Linked DNA regions of Homo sapiens: all the other regions are linked to region 4. Evidence: promoter capture Hi-C in 16 types of primary human blood cells and fetal thymus (Javierre and others, 2016). All regions are on one chromosome and are shown on one strand. Each heading gives the region's core, a stretch centred on a gene start or on the middle of the fragment in contact. The rest is flanking DNA. Distances are from core to core; before and after follow the strand shown.

What was found. Contacts are between HindIII fragments. The CHiCAGO score rates a contact against its expected background, and 5 or more counts as called.
Region 1: a contact is called between a fragment that was not itself captured here and the fragment with the promoter of UBP1 in region 4, in 1 of 17 cell types (erythroblasts). The highest score is 5.1, in erythroblasts.
Region 2: a contact is called between a fragment that was not itself captured here and the fragment with the promoter of UBP1 in region 4, in 2 of 17 cell types (neutrophils and erythroblasts). The highest score is 14.9, in neutrophils.
Region 3: a contact is called between a fragment that was not itself captured here and the fragment with the promoter of UBP1 in region 4, in 7 of 17 cell types (endothelial precursors, megakaryocytes, total B cells and 4 more). The highest score is 16.7, in endothelial precursors.
Region 5: a contact is called between a fragment that was not itself captured here and the fragment with the promoter of UBP1 in region 4, in 1 of 17 cell types (total B cells). The highest score is 5.1, in total B cells.
Region 6: a contact is called between a fragment that was not itself captured here and the fragment with the promoter of UBP1 in region 4, in 3 of 17 cell types (erythroblasts, naive CD8 T cells and activated CD4 T cells). The highest score is 6.1, in erythroblasts.
Region 7: a contact is called between a fragment that was not itself captured here and the fragment with the promoter of UBP1 in region 4, in 4 of 17 cell types (naive CD4 T cells, naive CD8 T cells, total CD8 T cells and 1 more). The highest score is 5.7, in naive CD4 T cells.

Annotation. Positions count from the first base shown.
Region 1 is chr3:33,749,093-33,751,843 of GRCh38, reverse strand. No RefSeq gene overlaps it. Among named protein-coding and RNA genes, the nearest start is that of CLASP2, 32 kb to the right of the region's middle. The HindIII fragment of the contact is 2,422 bases long and covers 186-2,607 here.
Region 2 is chr3:33,085,835-33,088,650 of GRCh38, reverse strand. All of the region lies in intron 1 of GLB1 (galactosidase beta 1), which reads left to right. Among named protein-coding and RNA genes, the nearest start is that of GLB1, 9.9 kb to the left of the region's middle. The HindIII fragment of the contact is 1,944 bases long and covers 471-2,414 here.
Region 3 is chr3:33,775,263-33,777,965 of GRCh38, reverse strand. No RefSeq gene overlaps it. Among named protein-coding and RNA genes, the nearest start is that of PDCD6IP-DT, 22 kb to the left of the region's middle. The HindIII fragment of the contact is 2,869 bases long and covers 1-2,703 here.
Region 4 is chr3:33,438,837-33,441,720 of GRCh38, reverse strand. It overlaps UBP1 (upstream binding protein 1), which reads left to right and starts at 1,316. Exons shown (of 16, transcript NM_014517.5): 1 at 1,316-1,985. The coding sequence starts at 1,873. RefSeq lists enhancers at 338-627, 838-1,027, 1,359-1,858 and silencers at 1,178-1,337, 1,398-1,507, 1,558-1,877, 2,108-2,157, 2,077-2,311. The HindIII fragment of the contact is 4,671 bases long and covers 1-2,884 here.
Region 5 is chr3:33,066,896-33,069,595 of GRCh38, reverse strand. GLB1 (galactosidase beta 1) reads left to right here. Exons shown (of 16, transcript NM_000404.4): 3 at 626-776; 4 at 1,306-1,366. Among named protein-coding and RNA genes, the nearest start is that of GLB1, 29 kb to the left of the region's middle. The HindIII fragment of the contact is 196 bases long and covers 1,211-1,406 here.
Region 6 is chr3:33,824,805-33,827,637 of GRCh38, reverse strand. PDCD6IP (programmed cell death 6 interacting protein) reads right to left here. Exons shown (of 18, transcript NM_013374.6): 5 at 2,298-2,451; 6 at 1,058-1,158. Among named protein-coding and RNA genes, the nearest start is that of PDCD6IP, 28 kb to the right of the region's middle. The HindIII fragment of the contact is 4,464 bases long and covers 1-2,833 here.
Region 7 is chr3:33,048,058-33,050,843 of GRCh38, reverse strand. The region is part of intron 9 of GLB1 (galactosidase beta 1); the gene reads left to right. Among named protein-coding and RNA genes, the nearest start is that of GLB1, 48 kb to the left of the region's middle. The HindIII fragment of the contact is 1,278 bases long and covers 756-2,033 here.

The DNA.
Region 1 (2,751 bases), core at 147-2,646, 310 kb before region 4:
TGCCATTGCATTCCAGCCTGGGAAGTAAGGGCAAAACTCTGTCTGGGAAAAAAAAAATTATTATTCATGTGTATAATTAAAATATTTTATTGAAATACAATATGTATACATAAATGTTCACATTTACAAGTAAAATTTTGATTTAAAAAATACATTTAAATAAGTCAAAGGAACCATAAAAAGCTTTACAGATGTGGCCTCGGGCATAGTTCACTGTTGATGGAAATGATGAGCCACTAAAAGTGTTTCTGAAGGTATGATTTCAGAAGCATTGGTTTGTGGTTCTCAAGCACTTTGGAGTTTTCTGAAGAAAAAGCAATAAACAATATTACTCATTCTTTTGAAATAAAAGATTAACTGTGACTTTCTGAGAAAGCTGATTACGTTCTTATAAGTATTACAGTCTTTTTTTTCTACACTGTTCTGAAGGTACATCAGCAATTTCAGTCTTAAAGAAGGATCTGAACTGCTCATTTTGACTAAAGTTCAGTTAACCAGATATAGATTATCTTTGCCAGAGTGTTTTGGAGTTATTTCTATGTGATTGTTTACTTTTGTCAAACTTAATAACATGGCTCTTGGAAGCCAAAAGTTAGTAATGAAAACAGTAACTGAAATACTACTACTAAGAATAATTTAGCTATTCTAGGCATTTGTCAACATCATTTATTTGGGCTAAGCCCAATTTCAAGCCTTTAAAAATGAACAATAAGTGGAAATTTCAGAACTCCAAAGAAACAGTAATTAGTGAAATATTCTGCTGCTCCTTTTTCTCCATGGCAATGCCCCCCAACCTTGCTTGCACACTGGAATCACTTGGGGAGCTTTTAAAGTTCCAGTCCTCAGGCCACACCTCAGAACAGGTAAGTCAGAATCTCTGGAGGTGGGACCCAGGCATTGGTATTGTTAAAACTCCCCAGGTGATTCCAACATGCTGACAAGGTTGAGAACAACTGCTTAACGGAAAATCATAATGAACAACATTCAGGTACTATCACATTGGTTTCAGTCCTTTTTTTTTTTTTTTTTTGAGATGGAGTTTCACTCTTGTTGCCCAGGCTGGAGTGCAGTGGCCCAATCTCAGCTCACTGCATCCTCTGCCTCCCGGGTTCAAGTGATTCTCCTGCCTCAGCCTCCTGAGTAGCTGGGATTACAGGCACCCGCCACCACGCCCAGCTAATTTTTTGTATTTTTAGTAGAGATGGGGTTTCACCATGTTGGGCAGGCTGGTCTCGAACTCCTGACCTCAGGAGATCTGTCTCCCTTGGCCTCCAAAAATGCTGGGATTACAGGCGTGAGCCACCATGCCCGGACGGTTTCAGTCCTTTTCTTAAATAATCCTTAAACCTCTGCTGTGAGATCCTCCAACTTTTTTGAGGGGAAGGCATTAGGGAAGGGGAGATTATCCTCTCAACCAGACACTGGCTTTAAAGGAGATGTTTGCTCCAACCCCCAATATAACCCCGCTTAGGGCAGTAAAGATTGGCAGGGATGACATCCAATCATAACTCCACTACCCACTTGAGCTTAGCTTCATGAGCAAGTTCCTCTCTGCTCTTTAGTTGCATTATTAAATAAAAATTTAGCACATTTTAAAAAATAACAGTTTCATTGGGTTATGATTTATATACCATAAAACTCATCCTAAGTCTGCTGTCTTAAAAAAAGGTCACTCATTGAAAGTGCACAATTCAATGTTTTTTTTAGTATATTCAGAGAGGTGTGCCACCATCATCACTATCTAATTTCAGAACATTTTTGTCGCCACAAAAGAAACCCCACATCCTTTAGCAGTCACTCTCCATTCTCCCTCTAGGGAATTCCCAGCTCATAGGCACCACTAATCTAATTTCTGTCCTGTGGATTTGCCTATTCTGGGTATTTCATATAAATGGAATCATACAATATGCAGTCTTTTATGGTGGCATCTTTCACTTAGTGTATTCTCATGGTTCATGTTGTAGCATGTATCACTGCTCCCTACCTTTTTATGGATGAATAATATTTCATTGTATGAATATACCATATTTTCTCTATTAACTCATCAGTTGATGGACATTTGGGTCGTTTTTCTCTTTGGCTATCATGAATAATACTGTTATGAAATCTGCATACACATTTTTGTCTATTTTTATTTCTCTTGGGTATATACCTAGGAGTAGAATTGCTGAGTCACATAGTAACTCTATACTGAACTTTTTGAGGAACTGCCCAACTATTTGCCACAAATTTTGCAACAGTTTTTTTGAAGTCATGTGCAAGTATTAAATGTTTAATTTGTAACAATAAAATAGAATACAATTTATTTTTCTGAGAATGATGTTCAGAGATTTTTTTTTTTTTTTTGAGATGGAGTCTTACTCGGTCACTGAGGCTGGAGTGCAGTGGCATGATCTCGGCTCACTGCAAGATCCACCTCCTGGGTTCAAGCAATTCTCCTGCCTCAGCCTCCCCAGTAGCTGGGATTACAGGCGCCTGCCACCACACTCAGCTCATTTTTGTATTTTTAGTAGAGACGGAGTTTCACCATCTTGGCCAGGCTGGTCTTGAACTCCTAACCTCGTGATCCACCCACCTCGGCATCCCAAAGTGTTGGGATGACAAGCTTGAGCCACCGCGGCAGGCCGATGTTCAGAGATTTTAATGTGACTTTCTTGAGAAACGTAGTTAACAGCTGTCCTCAAATTTTAACTTTCATCCCTTCCCCATCCCTTTCTGGAGAGGAAAAAACTGTTTTATGGACGGTGAGGG
Region 2 (2,816 bases), core at 193-2,692, 350 kb after region 4:
ATTTGTTTGTGTCTTCTTTAATTTCTTTTTAACAGTGTTTTGTAGTTTTCAGTGTAGTCTTTCACCTTAGTTAGGCCTATTTCTAAGTATTTTATTCTTTTTGATGCTTTTATATATGGAATTTTTTGAAATTCCATTTAGGATTGTTCATTTTTAGTGTATAGAGAAGCAACTGATTTTGGTATGTTGCTTTTTGTATCCTGCAACTTTGCTGAATTCATTTATTAGTTCTAACAGTTTGTGTGTGTGTGTGTGTGTGTGTGTGTGTGTGTGTGTGTGTGTAGTCTTTAGGGTTTCCTACATCTAAGATTATATCATCTGTGAATCGATCATTTTACTTCTCCTTTCTAATTTGAATGCCTTTTATTTCTTTCTTGCCTAGTTGCTCTGACTAGGACTTCCAAAACTATGTTGAGTAGAAGTGGCAAAAACAGACATCTTGCCTTTTTCCTGATCTTAGAGGAAAAGCTTGCAGTCTTTCACTATTGAATATGATGTTAGCTATGGGCTCTTCACATGTGGGCTTTATGATGTGGAGGTAGTTTTCTTCTATTTTGCATTTGTTGAGTTGTTGGTTTTTTTAATCATGAAAGGGTGTTGAATCTTGTCATGCTTTCTCTGCCTCAATTTAGATTATCATGTGGTTTTTGCCCTTCAATCTGTTAATTTGGTGTATTATATTGATTGATTTTTATATGTTAAACCATTCTTGCATTTTAGGAATAAATCCCACTTGATCATAGTATATAACCCTTTTAATGTACTGTTGAATTCAGTTTGCTAGTATTTTGTTGAGGATTTTTGCATCAATATTCACCAGGAATATTATTGTTCTGTAGTTTTCTTGTAGTGTATTTGTCTGGCTTTGGTATTAGGATAATATTGGTCTCATAGAATAAATTTAGAAATGTTCCTCCTCTTCAACTTTTGTAATAGTTTCAGGAGGATTGGTATTAATTCTTCTTTAAATGTTTGGTAGAATTCTCCAGTGAAGCCATCTGGTTCTAGGTTTTTCTTTGAGTGTGTGTGTGTGTGTGTGTGTGTGTGTGTGTGTGTGTGTGTGTGTGTGTGCGCGCATGCTGAGACATGGTCTTGCTCTGTCGCCGGGGCTGGAGTGCAGAGGCATGATCTTGGGTCACTGCAACCTCCACCTCCCAGGTTCAAGCGATTCTCCTTCCTCAGCCTCCCAAGTAGCCAGGACCACAGGCACGCGCCACCACACCCGGCTAATTTTTGTATTTTTAGTAGAGACGGGGTTTCACCATGTTGGCCAGGCTGGTCTCAAACTCTTGACCTCAAGTGATCTGGCCGCTTCCCCCTCCCAAAGTGCTGGGATTACAGGCGGGAGCCACCGTACCCGGCCTCTTTGAGGTTTTTGATGACTGATTCAATCTTTTTAATAGCTATTGGTCTGTATAGATTTTCTGTTTCTTCATGATTCGGTCTTGGTGGGCTGGGTGTGTCTAGAAATTTATCCATATCTTCTAGGTTATCCAATTTGTTGGCATACAGTTGTTCATGCTATTCTCTTACAATTCTTTATTTCTGTGTCATCAGTTATAATGTCCCCTCTTCATTTCTGATTTATTTATATCTTCTTTTTTTTAAATCTAGTTAAGTTTCTCAATTTTGTTGATTTTTTTTTCAAAAACCAACTGTTTTTTTTTCCTACTATCTTTCTATTCTCTTTTGTTTATTTCTACTCTAATATTTTATTTCCTTTTGCTAGCTTTGGGTTTATTTTTTTCTTCTTATGGAATTGTCTTTTTATAGTTATTTTGTTTGAAACAGGATCTAAAAATAGGTCTATATTTTGCCTGTGGTGTATTTCTTCAGTCTCCTTAAGTCTATAACATCCCCTTTTCCTTATTTTTTATCATTTATTTGTTCAAGTTATCTGGGTCATATGTCTTAAAATTTTATACATTTTAGATTTTGGTGTCATTTAACATGTTCATATTTTCTGTGAGCTCATAGAGCTAAAGCTCTCTAAAGGTTAGAGCTAGAGGCTGGTTGGATTCAGGTTCAACTTTTTCGCTTTTTGGGTAGGAAGAATTCATTGCTTCACTGATATTAAGATTGACCTGTTGGTCCAGGTGTTGTCAGCTTGATCCCTCCACTAGAAAATTCCGCATTATCTTTCCATTTAATGTTTCAGCAGTCATTGGTGATTGTTGCCTAATGTCATTATTTCACTAAAGATTGCAGAATAGTGATTTGTAAAATTCTACCCTTTTTTTCCTGCATTTACTGGCTATGGATCCTTTACAAAGAACTCTCCTCATTAATTATGTGGTTACTCTGAAAAAGCCTATAACAAAGGCAAGACAGATACCAGATTCTTTCACTTGATTCCTTAGTTTATAGCATAATGATCTGATACCACAGCAACCTCCAAGAATGACCAATAAGCTTTTCTTCTGGGTGGGTGAAATATTGTTAGGAATTTAGATATTTAGATATTTTATATATCTGATGTTTTTTAGTTCATCAAAGTGTTACATCTTTTAATACTCAAAATAGCCCATCTTTGGCCAGTTGGGACCTTTTCATTTTTCATTTTTTACTTTTTAGAGTCTTAGTCTTGCTCTGTTGTTCAGGCTGGAGTGCAGTGGTGTGACTGTAACTCACTGCACTCTCAATTTCCTGGGCTTAAGCGATACACTCACTTTGGCCTCCAGATAGCTAGGACTACAGGCATGCACCACCACCACCACTCCTGGCTCTTTTTTTTTTTTTTTGGTAGAGACAGAGTCTCTCTTTGTTGCCCAGGCTGGTCTCAAACTCCTGGCCTCAAGCAGTCCTCAGCCTCCCAA
Region 3 (2,703 bases), core at 51-2,550, 340 kb before region 4:
GTTGAAAGTGGATAATGCACATATGGAAGCTCTTTTTGCTTTTTTCTTCATTTCTTAAGTGTGAAATTCTCCATAATAAAAAGTTACATAATGCTGGACGTGGTAGCTTATGCCTGTAATCCCAGCATTTTGGGAAGCTGAGGCGGGAAGATGACTCGAGGTCAGGAGTTCGAGACCAGCCAGGCCAACATGGTGAAACCCCCTCTCTACTAAAAATACAAAAAAATTCACCCAGCATGGTGGCACATGCCTGTAATCCCAGCTACTCGAGAGGCTAAGGCGGCAGAATCGCTGGAACCCGGGAAGTGGAGGTTGCAGTGAGCTAAGCTCATGCCGCTGCACTCACCTGAGTGACAGAGCGAGACTCCATCTCAAAAAAAAAAAGTTACATAATTGTTTACATAAAGTGTTTATAATAGTACCTGGAACATTAAATAACTCAATAAATATTAGTTATTACTTGTTTTTTCTTTTGAGACAGAGTCGCACTTTGGCCGGAGTGCAGTGGCGTGATCTTGGCTCACTGCAACCTCCGCCTCCTGGGTTCCAGCGATTCTCCTGCCTCAGCCTCCTGAATAGCTGGGATTACAGGCATGCGCCACCATGCCCAACTAATTTTTTGTATTTTTAGTAGAGATGGGTTTCGCCATTTTGGCCAGGCTGGTCTCAAACTCCTGGCCTCAAGTGATCCGCCCACCTCAGCCTCCCAAAGTGCTAGGATTAGACATGTGAGCCACTGCACCCGGCCAGTTATTACTTTTAAAATGCTGGTTAAACAGATTTTTCTTTATTCAAATGCTATAATTTCTTGCCTACTGGGTCTTCATACAAGCATAATTCTTAAATAAGTTAACTTAGGTCTTTACATTACTCATTTAAAAATTATCAGTGCAGGCCAGGCACGATGACTTACGCCTGTAATCCCAGCACTTTGGGAGGCCGAGGCAGGTGGATCGCGAGGTCAGGAGATCGAGACCATCCTGGCTAACACGGTGAGATCCCGTCTCTACTAAAAAAATACAAAAAATAGCTGAGCGTGGTGGCATGCGCCTGTAGTCCCAGCTACTGGGGAGGCTGAGGCGGGAGAATCGCTTGAACCCGGGAGGCGGAGGTTGCAGTGAGCTGAGATTGCACCACTGCACTCCAGCCTGGGCAACAGAGCGAGACTCCGTCTCAAAAAAAAAAAATCATCAATGCCTTCAGCTATAATCATCTTTCTACCAGTGCCCAAGTAATCTTTGCAACTGCAAAAATGCAGATAAAATTTCCTATCTCTTATATATCATATATCCTATGAACCACAAGAGGGAGCCTATGTTCAGAAACACACAAAAAGTAATTAAACTTTTCATGAAAATTTGTAGGAATTTCAGTTAACCCCTCAACAACACAGAGTTAGAGGCGCTTATTCCTGCACAGTGGAAAATCTGCCTATAACTTTTGACTCCCTAAACTTTTAATGACTAATAGCTTACTATTGACTTACTGATAACATAAATGGTTGATTAAAACATATTTCATATAACATGTATTATATACAGTATATAACACATATACTGTATTCTTACAATAAAGTAAGTTAGAGAAAAGAAAATGTTAGTAAAATTATAAGGAAGAGAAAATATATTTACTATTGATTAACTGGAAGTGGATCATCATAAAGGTCTTTATTCTCCTCATCTTCCACTTTGAGTAGCTGAGAAAGAGGAGAAAGAAGAAGGATTGGTCTTGCTCTTCCTGGGGTGGCAGAAATCCACATATAAGTAGAGCTGTGCAGTTCACATTCATGTTTTCCAAGGGTCAACTATACCATTACCAAGAATGGTAGTCCACTGAGCTATTCCTCTGAACAAACGGAAGTATCAGTCCCCAGATAACAGCATTCTCTACTCCTTCCCCCAGCAGAGAGGCCAAAATTGTTTCTAAAGATTCAAGAAAACTTAAACAGAATCTTCCCAGTGTGAGATGGTGGGGTGGGCTATCTTGGTAGGGAGTGATGTTGCGGTAGGGAAGACTGAGGACATACTTTGGTAGGCCTGGCAGAGTGACCTGTGTTTAGCTTTCTTGCAGTGCTTAGGAAAAGAGCCAGATACTATAGAGCCTGTCTCATGGGAACAAAACTCACAACAATATAAAGGAGCACCTAAAGGCATTTCCTTTTTTTTTTTTCCTTTTTTTTTTTTTTGAGACAGGGTCTCAAAAAAATGTTTTTGACGCTATGTTGTCCAGGTTGGTCTCAAACACCTGGACTTAAGCAATCCTCCTGCCTCAGGCTCCCCAGTAGCTGGCGTTATGGGTACATACCACCTCATTCAGTATCCCTAAAAGCATTTCCGAGCAAAATATAACTACTTGTTCTGGTGCCTCAGATTTTCCTGATTAGGATGATTCATTCCTTTAGAAGATGACCATGCTTAAAATGCACTTAATCTCTGGATGAGAAAGAAGACTACTTTTCACTATCCTGGGGCTATTTTTCAGGTTACCCAGGAAGAGCACTGGGAAAGGAATGAATATCAGGGTCACATGAAAAAGGCAGTTCTGGGAAGGTACCAGGCACCTGGATTGGCAAGCTAGAGGAGCTTAACAGACACTACCAACTTCAGACTGTCCCAGAGTCAGTGTGAAAAAGCACATAATAGATAATTCCAAAGACTGAGATTTGCCTAATTTTTATAATCTAGGATTCAGTCACATTTATTT
Region 4 (2,884 bases), core at 67-2,566:
TTCAAGCCTTACTCCCGCCTCAGCCTCCTGAGTAGCTGGGATTACATGGGCGCGCCACCACATCCAGCTAATTTTTGTTATTTTTGGTAGAGACGGGGTTTCACCATGTTGGCCGGGATGGTCTCCTGACCTCAACTAATTCACCCGCCTCGGCCTCCCGAAGTGCTGGGATTACAGGCGTGAGCCTGTAAGTTAGTATCTAAATCACACAGGCGTTGAGACTATTTTTTTCTGGCTCAGTGCCACTGCTTTATTAGGCTGACATTTTAATCTATGTATTTTTGCACTTAAACTGGCAAGTTGGGGCGGGGCGCTCAGCATTTGGGTCTTATTCTTAGGCAGTAAGTTCGATGCAGGGCGAAGCCCGGGCCTTGACGTTCTCTTCAGCAAGGATTCCGCCCGTCAAGCGCCAGCAGCCGCTCCTAAGGAACTCTGATCCGCACACTGGCTCTGTAAGTCAGCCTCTGGCTCCTGCTTTCTATTTCATCTCTTCCGGTAAAAAGATTTCTGTCTTTTGGCCGCAGTGGCGCGTGCCCACGCTAGGTCGCTGAGGAAGACCCTTCGGGCCTTCTGAGCAGCGTAGCTGTTACTGTGGCACGTCCTAATGGTTCGGTCCAACTTCAGGAGACCGCCTGCCCTTAGGATGACCAACAGCTAGTTCAACTCAGGATAGCCAAGCTGCTCTCGGCAATGCAACCAATAGGGGAAGTCTTTCCAGAGCTCTTTCTCAGGAGCGTTGATTGGCTTATTCTCACGCCAATCAAGGTTTTCTGCACAACTGGCTTTTCTGTCACCAGATGGGGTGCAAACCGCTCACTCCCTCGGTAGAGAGGGCATAAAGCAGAGACGACCGGGAAATACCACAGAGGAGCAAATCACCTCCGGAAGTGGCGTTTTGGGTCGCTTTCTACCATGCAGTCCAATGAACTCTTTCTTTTGGCAACAAATTCCGTCTTCGAGCCCGCCCAAGGTGAAGAACATTTTGATTGGTTGTTTAGTCGGGGGACACAGAGACTCACGGGAGCTTCGTCCAAGCCCTTGCAGGTATTGCTCAGTTGGCCTGTCAATCATCTCGCTCGCTAGAAGGGGCGGAAACTGGCAGCCCTTTTGGCACCGCCTCTTCCTGGGCTGCTGTGCGGGGACGCAGCGAGGCCACCCCGGCTGGGAACAGCCGCGTGGGCGGGGCCGCATTGCACTCTCTGGACAGTTCCTGGGCCGCGAGGCGCGGGGAGTGGCCCTAAGCGCGGGGCTGTACGGGGAGGGCCGAGGCGTGGGGCGAACGCCGGGGCGGGGTCGGGGCGGGGCCGGGGGAGGCGGAAGCGGCGCGTGAACCTAAGTCGGAGTCGCGTTGAAGCCAGCGTCCGGCCGGCAGAGCGGCGTCGGCGGGGTTGGCCGGGGCGGTGTGGCGCTAGAGCCTGGGCGGGCCGGGGGCAAGGAGTCAAGGCTTGGGGGCGGGTGACGGGCGGGCGGAGGGCTTGCCCCCGTGTGGTCCTCGGAGCGGCCCGAGGTCCAGCCTCCCAGCGGTCCCGGAGGAGGATGCGACCGGGGGGCCCCGGGCGGGGCGGTCGGCGGCGGCTGCAGCGCTAGCGGCGCGGGGGCTGGGCGGCGGCGCCGGCATGAGGCGCAGGGCCGGTGTCCGCGGGAGGGTGGCGCTGCCGGCGGCCCGGCCGCTCCCGCTGCAATTGCTCGCTGGGCTCGTCGTGCCCTGCCAGTGGGGCCCCCGCAGCTCTCGTCCCGGCCGCCGCTGGTGACCACTCGCCGCCCCTCCGGAGGCTTCACCCGCGCCCTCCCCCAGGACGCGCCAGCGGAGCTCCGGCTCCTTCGCCCTGGACGCGGAGGCCGCGGTGTGCGGGGCGACGGCGAGGCCGGAAGATGGCCTGGGTGCTCAAGATGGACGAGGTGATCGAGTCCGGGCTGGTGCACGACTTCGACGCCAGCCTCTCGGGCATCGGGCAGGAACTGGGCGCCGGCGCTTACAGCATGAGGTACTGGGCTCCCTGGGCGGGGAGAAGCCTCTGTCTCCTTGGGGAAGGCCTGCGCAGCCCTGAGTCTCTGCCAGATGCGGCTGCTCCCAGAGGTGCGCGGGCCTCCTGGGCTGCGGGGTCGGAGTCCTGCCGCGTGGCGGTCGGGGGCCATGGAACCCCAAAGGCCTCTGCTCGCCCTGGTGACGGGCGGGTGGGGGAGGATGGCCCCGCAAGCGTCGGCCTCGGACCGCTCCTGAGTGCTTCATATTTGCTGTAAAACACGCCCAGCTATTAGGATGGCTTGGGTTGGTGGGGGAAGGGGCTTCTTTTCCTTATAAGTGATTTACAAGTCCCATTGGAGCTAGAATACACTGTACGAAAAGGCAGCACTTATATTGGGAGAATACTGTCTAGCGTTTTGGGATCAGTTCCTACTTTGTTGTCCTACATTATGATCTTTTCTGGCTGCAGATTTTAATCACTTGATGTTAGTAAATTATAATTGAAAGAGCAGCGGTGGGAGTAGCACTGTGACTTCGTTTTGTTCTTTTGATTGTCTCAAAGTGAAGTTTCTCATTTTGGAGACTACCCTCTCAGGCTGTTTCCTCTTGAGGGTTTTAAGATGCAGTGATTGCACCACAAATAATTGTTTAGTCTCTGCTGTCTGTACCAGCAGTCATTCATTTTAATATGGAGAGATTGAAACAGATCTGAGCTTAGTCTCCGCCCTTTATCCTTTTTAACTGTTAGGAATTTGGAAACTCTGTATTTTTTTAGTGGCTTTATTGAAATATAGTTTACCATAGCGTTGACTTGACTAATAAAGTCTAAAAATCAGTGGTTTGGCAGCTTTTCAATAATGTGAATTAAGTGTAGCTTTCTGTTCTTTAGAAAATGTCTGATGTTTTGGAAGTGCTCTA
Region 5 (2,700 bases), core at 59-2,558, 370 kb after region 4:
ATAATCTACAAATTAATCTGTAACTTCAAAGTTCTTCCCTTAATCAATAGTAAATAGTAAGTCAAACAAAATATCTCCCCTGGAGAATGAAGGAAGCCTCAGTGGGCCCATTGGACAGTCCTCCATTATAACATGGAAAGGAAATGCAGTCACCCTTTTGCCTTATATCCAAATTCTGGATAATTTTTCTTTTCTTTTCTTTCTTTATTTTGACACAGGGTCTCACTCTGTCATCCAGTTTGGAGTGCAGTGGCACAATCACAGCTCACTGCAGCTTCAACCTCCCTAGCTTAAGCAAACCTCCACCTCAAGCCTCCAGGGTAACTGGGACCACAGGCATACACCCTGGCTAATTTTTTTGTGTTTTTTGTAGAGACGGGGTTTCACCATGTTTTCCAGGCTGGTGTCAAACTCCTGGGCTCAAGCCATCCACCCACCGTGACTTCCCAGAGTGCTGGGATTAGAGGCCTGAGCCACTGTGCCCAGCCTTGGATAATTTTTCTTTCAAAGCGCCTTCTCCCTCTTATCCATGTGTTAGCAATAGTCCTAATGAGGCCCTTTCCCCACGCTTCTTTCTTCTTGACTCTGCCAAGTATCCAGGAAGGGGCTGTGTGTGTCTTGGCAGGTATGTGCCCTGGAACTTTCATGAGCCCTGGCCAGGACAGTACCAGTTTTCTGAGGACCATGATGTGGAATATTTTCTTCGGCTGGCTCATGAGCTGGGACTGCTGGTTATCCTGAGGCCCGGGCCCTACATCTGTGCAGAGTGGGAAATGGTGAGTGTGGCTAGACTGGGCTCTACCTGGTGTGTGTGAGCTGGCAGGCAGCAGCTCTGGGGCAAAGGGAATTAAAGCAGACCTGCATTCCAGAGAGCATGGGGCCTGGGACTGTACCCAGCACAGGTGTCTTTTACCTTGACAAGGTGCCCAGGCAGAGAAACAGGCCAGGGTCAGGGCATGGGCTCTCCTCTTGGTGGTCACTCACATACCTCAGCTTGCTCATCTGTAAGAAGCAGTTAATGGTGTCTTCTCTATCTACGTCACAGGGTATTTGTGAAATTAAATTGAAAAATCTTTATGAAAAGGGCTTTGGTCCTTAAAACATTGCATTCATGCAGAGTGATCTTAATTGTCCTACATTCCAATTTCTAATTTCTCTGCAAGTTATAAACCAAAAAGCCCAGCTCAAATACCCCTTGTCCCTTGAAGCTTTTATTCTTTTCCATAACTACTAATAGTAATTTCTATCTCCTCTGAGCACCCTTCACGGAACAGACATTATAATGGCTTGTTTTCCCTGAACTAGGGAGGATTACCTGCTTGGCTGCTAGAGAAAGAGTCTATTCTTCTCCGCTCCTCCGACCCAGGTAGGTTGTTACAGATGTCTTGAGAAGATTTATAAAAGCTTCAGCCTAGGTGCGGTGGCTCACGCCTGTAATCCTGACACTTTGGGAGGCTGAGGCGGGTGGATTACCTGAGGTTGGGAGTTCGAGACCAGGCTGGCCAAAATGGCAAAACCTCGCCCCTACTAAAAATACAAAAAATTAGCTGGGCATGGTGGTGGGCGCCTGTAATCCCAGCTACTCAGGAGGCTGAGGCAGAAGGATTGCTTGAACCCTGGAGGCGGAAGTTGCAGTGAACCGAGATCGTATCAATGCACTATAGCCTGGGTGACAAAGCGTGACTCTGTCTCAAAACAAACAAACAAACAAAAAAGCTTCAACAATTTATATCAAAAGGGGGAGGTATTTTGAAGGCTGGGGTACCTCTGCACAAATACTTTTGAAAGTTTAGTGAAAGTCTGAGTGTTTATCACTGACCAGTGCATAGCAACAAACTAAACCTCTAGGAAATTAGGCTTTGAACTACGTAACCAGATCTTACTGATAAACTGGTAATTCTTTGAATTGGTATTGAACCCTGTTTGCGGTTGACCAACTGACTTCAGTGCTTTCTCTTCCTATTTACTTAGCATATTCCACAGCCAATGATAGCACCTCGCTAATCAAAATGACAAGTCAGGCATGGTGACTCACACTTGTAATCTCAGCACTTTGGGAGGCCAAAGTGGAGGGATTGCTTGAGCCCAGGAGTTTGATACCAGCCTAGGTAACATAGCGAGACCCTATCTCTATAAAAATTAGCCAGGTGTGCTGGCACATGCCTGTAGTCCGGGAGGCTGAGGTGGGAGGATTGCTTGAGCCTGGGAGGTTGAGACTGCAGTGAGCCATGATTGTACCACTGCACTCCATCCTGGGCAACAGAGAGGGACTTTGTCTCAAAAAAAGAAATAAGGTCGGGCGTAGTGGCTCATGCCTGTAATCCCAGCACTTTGGGAGGCCGAGGTGGGTGGATCACCTGAGGTCAGGAGTTCGAGACCAGCCTGACCAACATGAGGAAACCCTGTCTCTACTAAAAAATACAAAATTAGCTGGGTGTGGTGGTGCATGCCTGTAATCCCAGCTACTCGGGAGGCTGAGGCAGGAGAATTGCTTGAAGCTGGGAGGCAGAGGTTGCAGTGAGCCCAGATTGCGCCATTGCATTCCTGCCTGGGCAACAAGAGCGAAACTCTGTCTCAAAAAAAAAAAAAAAAAGAAATAAAAACAAAATGACAGTTTCTGGGATGGTGTCATTGGATTGCTTGGTAGCTGCAATGCCTTCTATATTCTGGCCACTTTTATAGAGCAATGTGTAAATGATA
Region 6 (2,833 bases), core at 149-2,648, 390 kb before region 4:
CAGCTGAACATGAGGTCTTTCAGATGAAAAAAACATGAGAGGAGATCCCAAGTCTCTTTTTAAGAGGAAGGCTGTTAATACCCAAGAATCCTGGGCAAATTTCTACTAGGCTCTTGGTGTATCTTAAATCCCCAGGAATCGTCACATTAATTCCTTATTGATCATTTTCTGAGTAATAAGTACTGTTAATGCACTTATGTGCATTTTTACTTCACCCCCAAGTTGTCTGCAATTTTTTAATGTACAAAGATTCCTGAATATGACTTACAAATCAATAAATTCCCCTACCAAAAAAAATCATGTAACAGATACCATATGATGAAACTAATTCCTTGAACATTTCTGAAGGAAGTAGTTGAAACATATATTTCACTCAATCTTTAAGTTTTCTTTATTAATCATTCCAAATTTACTAGTGATTTGCTTTGTCATTAACAAATGATCATCACTGAATAGTCTTTACAATTGTCACTTCAGAAAGGTTTACATTAAAACATTATACTTCCTGTGATATGTGGTTTAAGATGGTTGCTTTCCTTAGCTGTCCATTAGCAGCCCAATTTTTTATCCCTGTTGGCAAAACTGAATTCTAATCAAAGTATCAGATGAATTTGTTAAGTTTTCTTTTCCTTTTTTCTTTATGTCTGTTTTTGCGCTTTAAGGCTCATCTTTAAGAAAACAGGACAATAATTAAAAGTGTGAATCATCAACATGCTCAAGTATACATGCTTGTACCAAATCACCAATGATTCAGAACTACACAATGCCTTGATTTGATAAAAGTATTGAAAACAGATGGTCAACATTTTCCAGAAAGAGTTCTAGCTTGGAAAAACAAGTTTAGTAAAAGGTAAAGACAAAGGCATCCCCTAAACATAAAAGAATTGTTCATGCATCTTAAATTAAAAAAAAAAAAAAACTATTTCTACTATATACTTCAGATAACTCTATTAAAACTTCAAATTTCTTTATAAGTTTCAACTTGCTTCTTATACACAAAAAAGTCTAAATATTTCACATGCAAAGTAAGCAAGTGTTTATAAAAACAATAACTGACCTTGGGGAGAGTATCTTTGTATTGACACTGTTTGAAAGCATCACCAAAATAATCTGCAGCCTGATTAGCCAATTTAGCTATGATGGCATCTTTCATTTTATCTGGAATACAATATGACCATTATAATTAAAATAAATATGAGCTAATCTGACATGTCTCAGTATAAACACTGAGGTCACAAGTTTGTACACGCATCTGAAAACATCTTTCTTGATGAAATCACATTTTCTGCACAAAATTTAGAACAGACAAAATAGATTAGTGGTTGCCAGCAGTGGGGGAAAGGGGAGTGAGGAGTGACTGCTAATGGGTACATGGCTTCTTTCTGGGATGATGGTAATGTTCTAAAATAAGATAGTGGTAATCAAAACTCTATGAATATACTAAAAATCTTATGTTGTATACTTAGAAAGGGTGAACTTGAGTGTATATAAATTCTATCTCAATATAAGCTGTTATTTTAAAAGAAAAAAGTATTCCAATTCCTATTTCTTCCACATGATGACTTATCTCTTATTTTCAGTTTCAGCCCATATTACATATTCAGCCCATTTTCAATCTCTCATGCTAACTTATATGCCTTATAAGAATTATTCTTATTCCCTCATTCCCAGGGCTAGGGACTGTGCCTGGATGACTCCTTCTTGTCATTTAGGTCTACTTTAAAGAGGACCTCCTGAAAGAAAGCCTTCTTGACTAATGAATCTAAAATTAGCCCAGCTTCCCCTATATCCCTATCCCATAACCATACCACCAGCCACTATCATATAATTCTCTTATTTTTTATAGCAATTATTTCTGAAATCTTATAGCAATTATTTATGAAATTATCCTGTCTACTTAATTCTTGCTTATCATCTCTCCCGTCGCCAAAACCTAAGTTGTTTTCTAACTCCGTTTATCTAGAAACTAGAACAGTGACTGGCACAGAGTAAGTATCCAATAAATATTTGCGAATAAATGTCTGACATGTTAAAAACATACATAAATACTATTCCAGAATGGAGTGTTTAAAGACAATTACTAAAGATCTATTTCATGACTTCAAACACAGCCTACATTCTTAAATGTAAATTTGTGCCACAAATTCAGAAAAGGATAGCTGAAAATTTTCCATAATTCATGTATCAAGTTCAAGAAGGACAGCTCGACATTGAACATATTATATTCTAATCACTTTCTTAATTTAAAAGCCTTATCACTTTTTTTCACATGCAACAAAAAGATAAATTGGAGTTACCTCTTGTGGCTTTTAAAAAAAATACTTCTTGAGCCTGTGCCAGCATAATAAGACTGAGGGTCCCAACAGTATCTGGAGATATGTCCACGGTCGGCTCTCGACTTAAGGCAGATAAAACCGTCTCTTTAATATGTAAAAAGGCACCACTAGCAAACTAAAGGGGGGAAAAAGAATTTCTTTATAGGAACTCAGCAAGACTTAATTTCCTACTGTTACATATAAAAGTCATTTCAAATGTTAACTCAGTGAACAGTTAATATATTTAAATTTTTATATTATGCAAAACCAATCTAAAACATCTGACCTACAGACAATAAGGTTATCTTTCTAAAACTCTATAGCGTAACAAGAGATTTAACAAAGATTAAAAGTAAATTACAAGGAAAAACAAAGTAAACTAATGGAACAATCTGATTAAACTATTTTTAGATATACTTCCTCAAAATTAACATGAGAATAGAGGCGGGGATAAACATTAAAATATTTTTAGTACTGCAATGCTCTTGCTTTGGTCCCAAACAAATTCATCTTTCAAA
Region 7 (2,786 bases), core at 145-2,644, 390 kb after region 4:
TTGTTCAAATATTCTACTGTGGTCTCTTTCTTTTAACGTTTTGTTTTGTTGAGGTATAATTCACAAACCATAAAATTGACAATTTTTAAGTATATGATGCAGTGGTATTTACTGTATTCACAAAGTTGTGTAACCATTACCATTATCTAATTCAGAAACATTTTATCACCCCAAAAAGAAACTCCATACCCATTAGCATTCATTCCACACTCTCCCTCCTCTCAGCCCCTGGAAATAATATACTTTCTGTCCCTGTGGGTTTGCCAATTCTGAACATTTCGTATAAGTGAACCACATATATACACCTGTATGACTTCTTTCATTTAGCCCAATGTGTTCAACGCTCATCCACGTTGTTGCACGTACTAGTGCTTCATTCCTTTTTATTGCTGAATAGTATTCCCTTGTGTGGATGTACAGTATTTTATTTATCCATTCATTGGTTGATGGACATTTGGGTTATTTGCACATTTTGGTTATAGTGTTGCTTTGAACATTGATGTACAAGGATTTGTTTGAATTCCTGTTTCAGTTCCTTTGGGTGTATACCAAGAAGTGGAACGGCTGTGTCATATGGTAACTCTATGTTTAGAGTTTCAGGAACTGCCATAGTGTTTCCCAAAAAGGCCACACCACTTTACATTTCTGTATTTTTTTGTGTAGGAAAAATTATGACAAAATTTTTCTGTAACGTCTTTGATTTTTGTTGTTTTTTTGCAAAGACAGATGATGCTGTACTGGCTTTTCGCTAAGCTTCATTTCCCACCTGTCTCTTTATTTGCATTTTTCTCTCTGAATCATGGAGGATGCCCAGCTGTTGAGTTTTGAAGGCTTAGTTTGGGCCTAAATCTCTCAGGATCTGAAATTGGATACTATCAGCTCTTAATGAAGTTTCTCCTTTGAACTGCTATCTTTTTTGCAGGCTGAGATGGGCTAGGAGAAGACATCGCTTACAAGCATTATCAATTTTAATACTATTAGTAGAGCCAAGAAATGAAGATATTGCAAAACTCAAATGTCACTGCATATAAGATAATAGTGTGCCTGGGGCGTGTCTGGGTGGGTGAGGGGAGGGAGAGCATCAGGATGAATAGCTAATGCATGCAGGGCTTAATACCTAGGTGACCAGGCTGGGTGCGGTGGCTCACGCCTGTAATCCCGGCACTTTGGGAGGCTGAGGTGCGTGGATCACGAGGTCAGGAGTTTGAGACCAGCCTGGCCAACATGGTGAAACCTTGTCTCTACTAAAGATACAAAAAATTAGCTGGTTGTGGTGGCGCTCACCTGTAATCCCAGCTACTCGGGAGACTGAGGCAGGAGAATCACTTGAACCCAGGTGGTGGAGGTTGCAGTGAGCTGAGATCGTGCCATTGCACTCCAGCCTGGGTGACAGGGTGAGACTTTGTCTCAAAAATAAAATAAAATAAATACCTAAGTGACCAGTTGATAGGTGTGGCAAACCACCATGGCACACGTTTACCTATGTAACAAACCTACACGTCCTGCACATATATCCCGGAACTTAAATTAAATTAAAAAAAAGGAAAAGATAATAGTGTGCCAAGGTTGGTCACTGATATTTTAGATAATCCCTCTGTGTTCATCTTATGAGAAACAGTTGAGACCTGGTGGGTGCCTTTTTCACTTAGTAGATGGGGATTCCCCCTAGCTGCCATTGATGGGATCGGGACCAATCATCCGATCCAGGAAAAAAGGCATCGTTTTTGGAACTTTATGGTTCATGACACAATTTTTTAAAAATCTTACTGTTATACTTAAAATAACACATTCATCTTAAAAAAAAATTGGACATTATAGAAACTGTCAGAACATAAATGTTGTCCTTAATCCTCTCTCCTGCCCCTCCCTCTGCCATAATCCATAGAATTCCCCTTTCTTCCTCTGTTGCCTTATTTAGCCTGCATATTAGCCTCATCTTAATTAGAGATTATCAGCACCACTTTTCAGATAAGAATAGCTGAATACAAAAAAAAGTCCACACGTTTTCTGTTCAGCTGGCAAGGGGTGAAGCTTGGACTGGAACTCAGGTGGTGGTGAGCCAGAGTCACTGCGCTTTGGATCACCCTTTGCACCCTGGAGCCCCTGAGCCAGCCCCCACACCCACCCCACTGTGTTCTGCCAAGCCTCCCTGAAGCTGCTTTTTGCCCTGTCTCTTTGAGGAAGTGAGAGAAGGCCAGTCTGTACTTAGCAGCTGTTCTTCAGGCCAGCTTCCTAGAGGAGAGCAGGGAGAGAAAGGCATCAGGAGTGGGGAGTTCACTGCCCATCCCACCCACAGGAACATGCACCTGCCTGTGCAGGTGTGTGTCTCCTTCCTCCACACCTGTGTGTGTCCACAGCTGTGTGATGGCTGCCTACAGGGTCCAGGCGCTCCTGTACTTCTCACACAATGTGGAATGTTGATGAATGCAAAGTCTCACCATTTCTTTCACCTTCCCACCTCACACCCTCTTAAGTGGCCAGAGGAGGCTTGAATCTGCACCATTTCTCTGCGATGCTGCCCTTTGGTGGTCTAAAAACACCCAAAGTAAGATTCTGCCAGTAGAACTAGAACAAATACTTAGTCTTCCAATCCATCCTTAAACCCACTGGACAGCTTCCCAGCCTGGGCTCCCTCGGCCTGTAAAGTGTGCTTCTAGAGGTCACACTTTCCCAACTCAACCTGGCAACCCCCTCCATGCTGGGCTCTGGCTAAGGACTCAAGGGCAAGTGAGGCACAGTCTCTGCCCCTGAGGTGCAAGCAGTGTAGCATGGAGAGAGACATAACA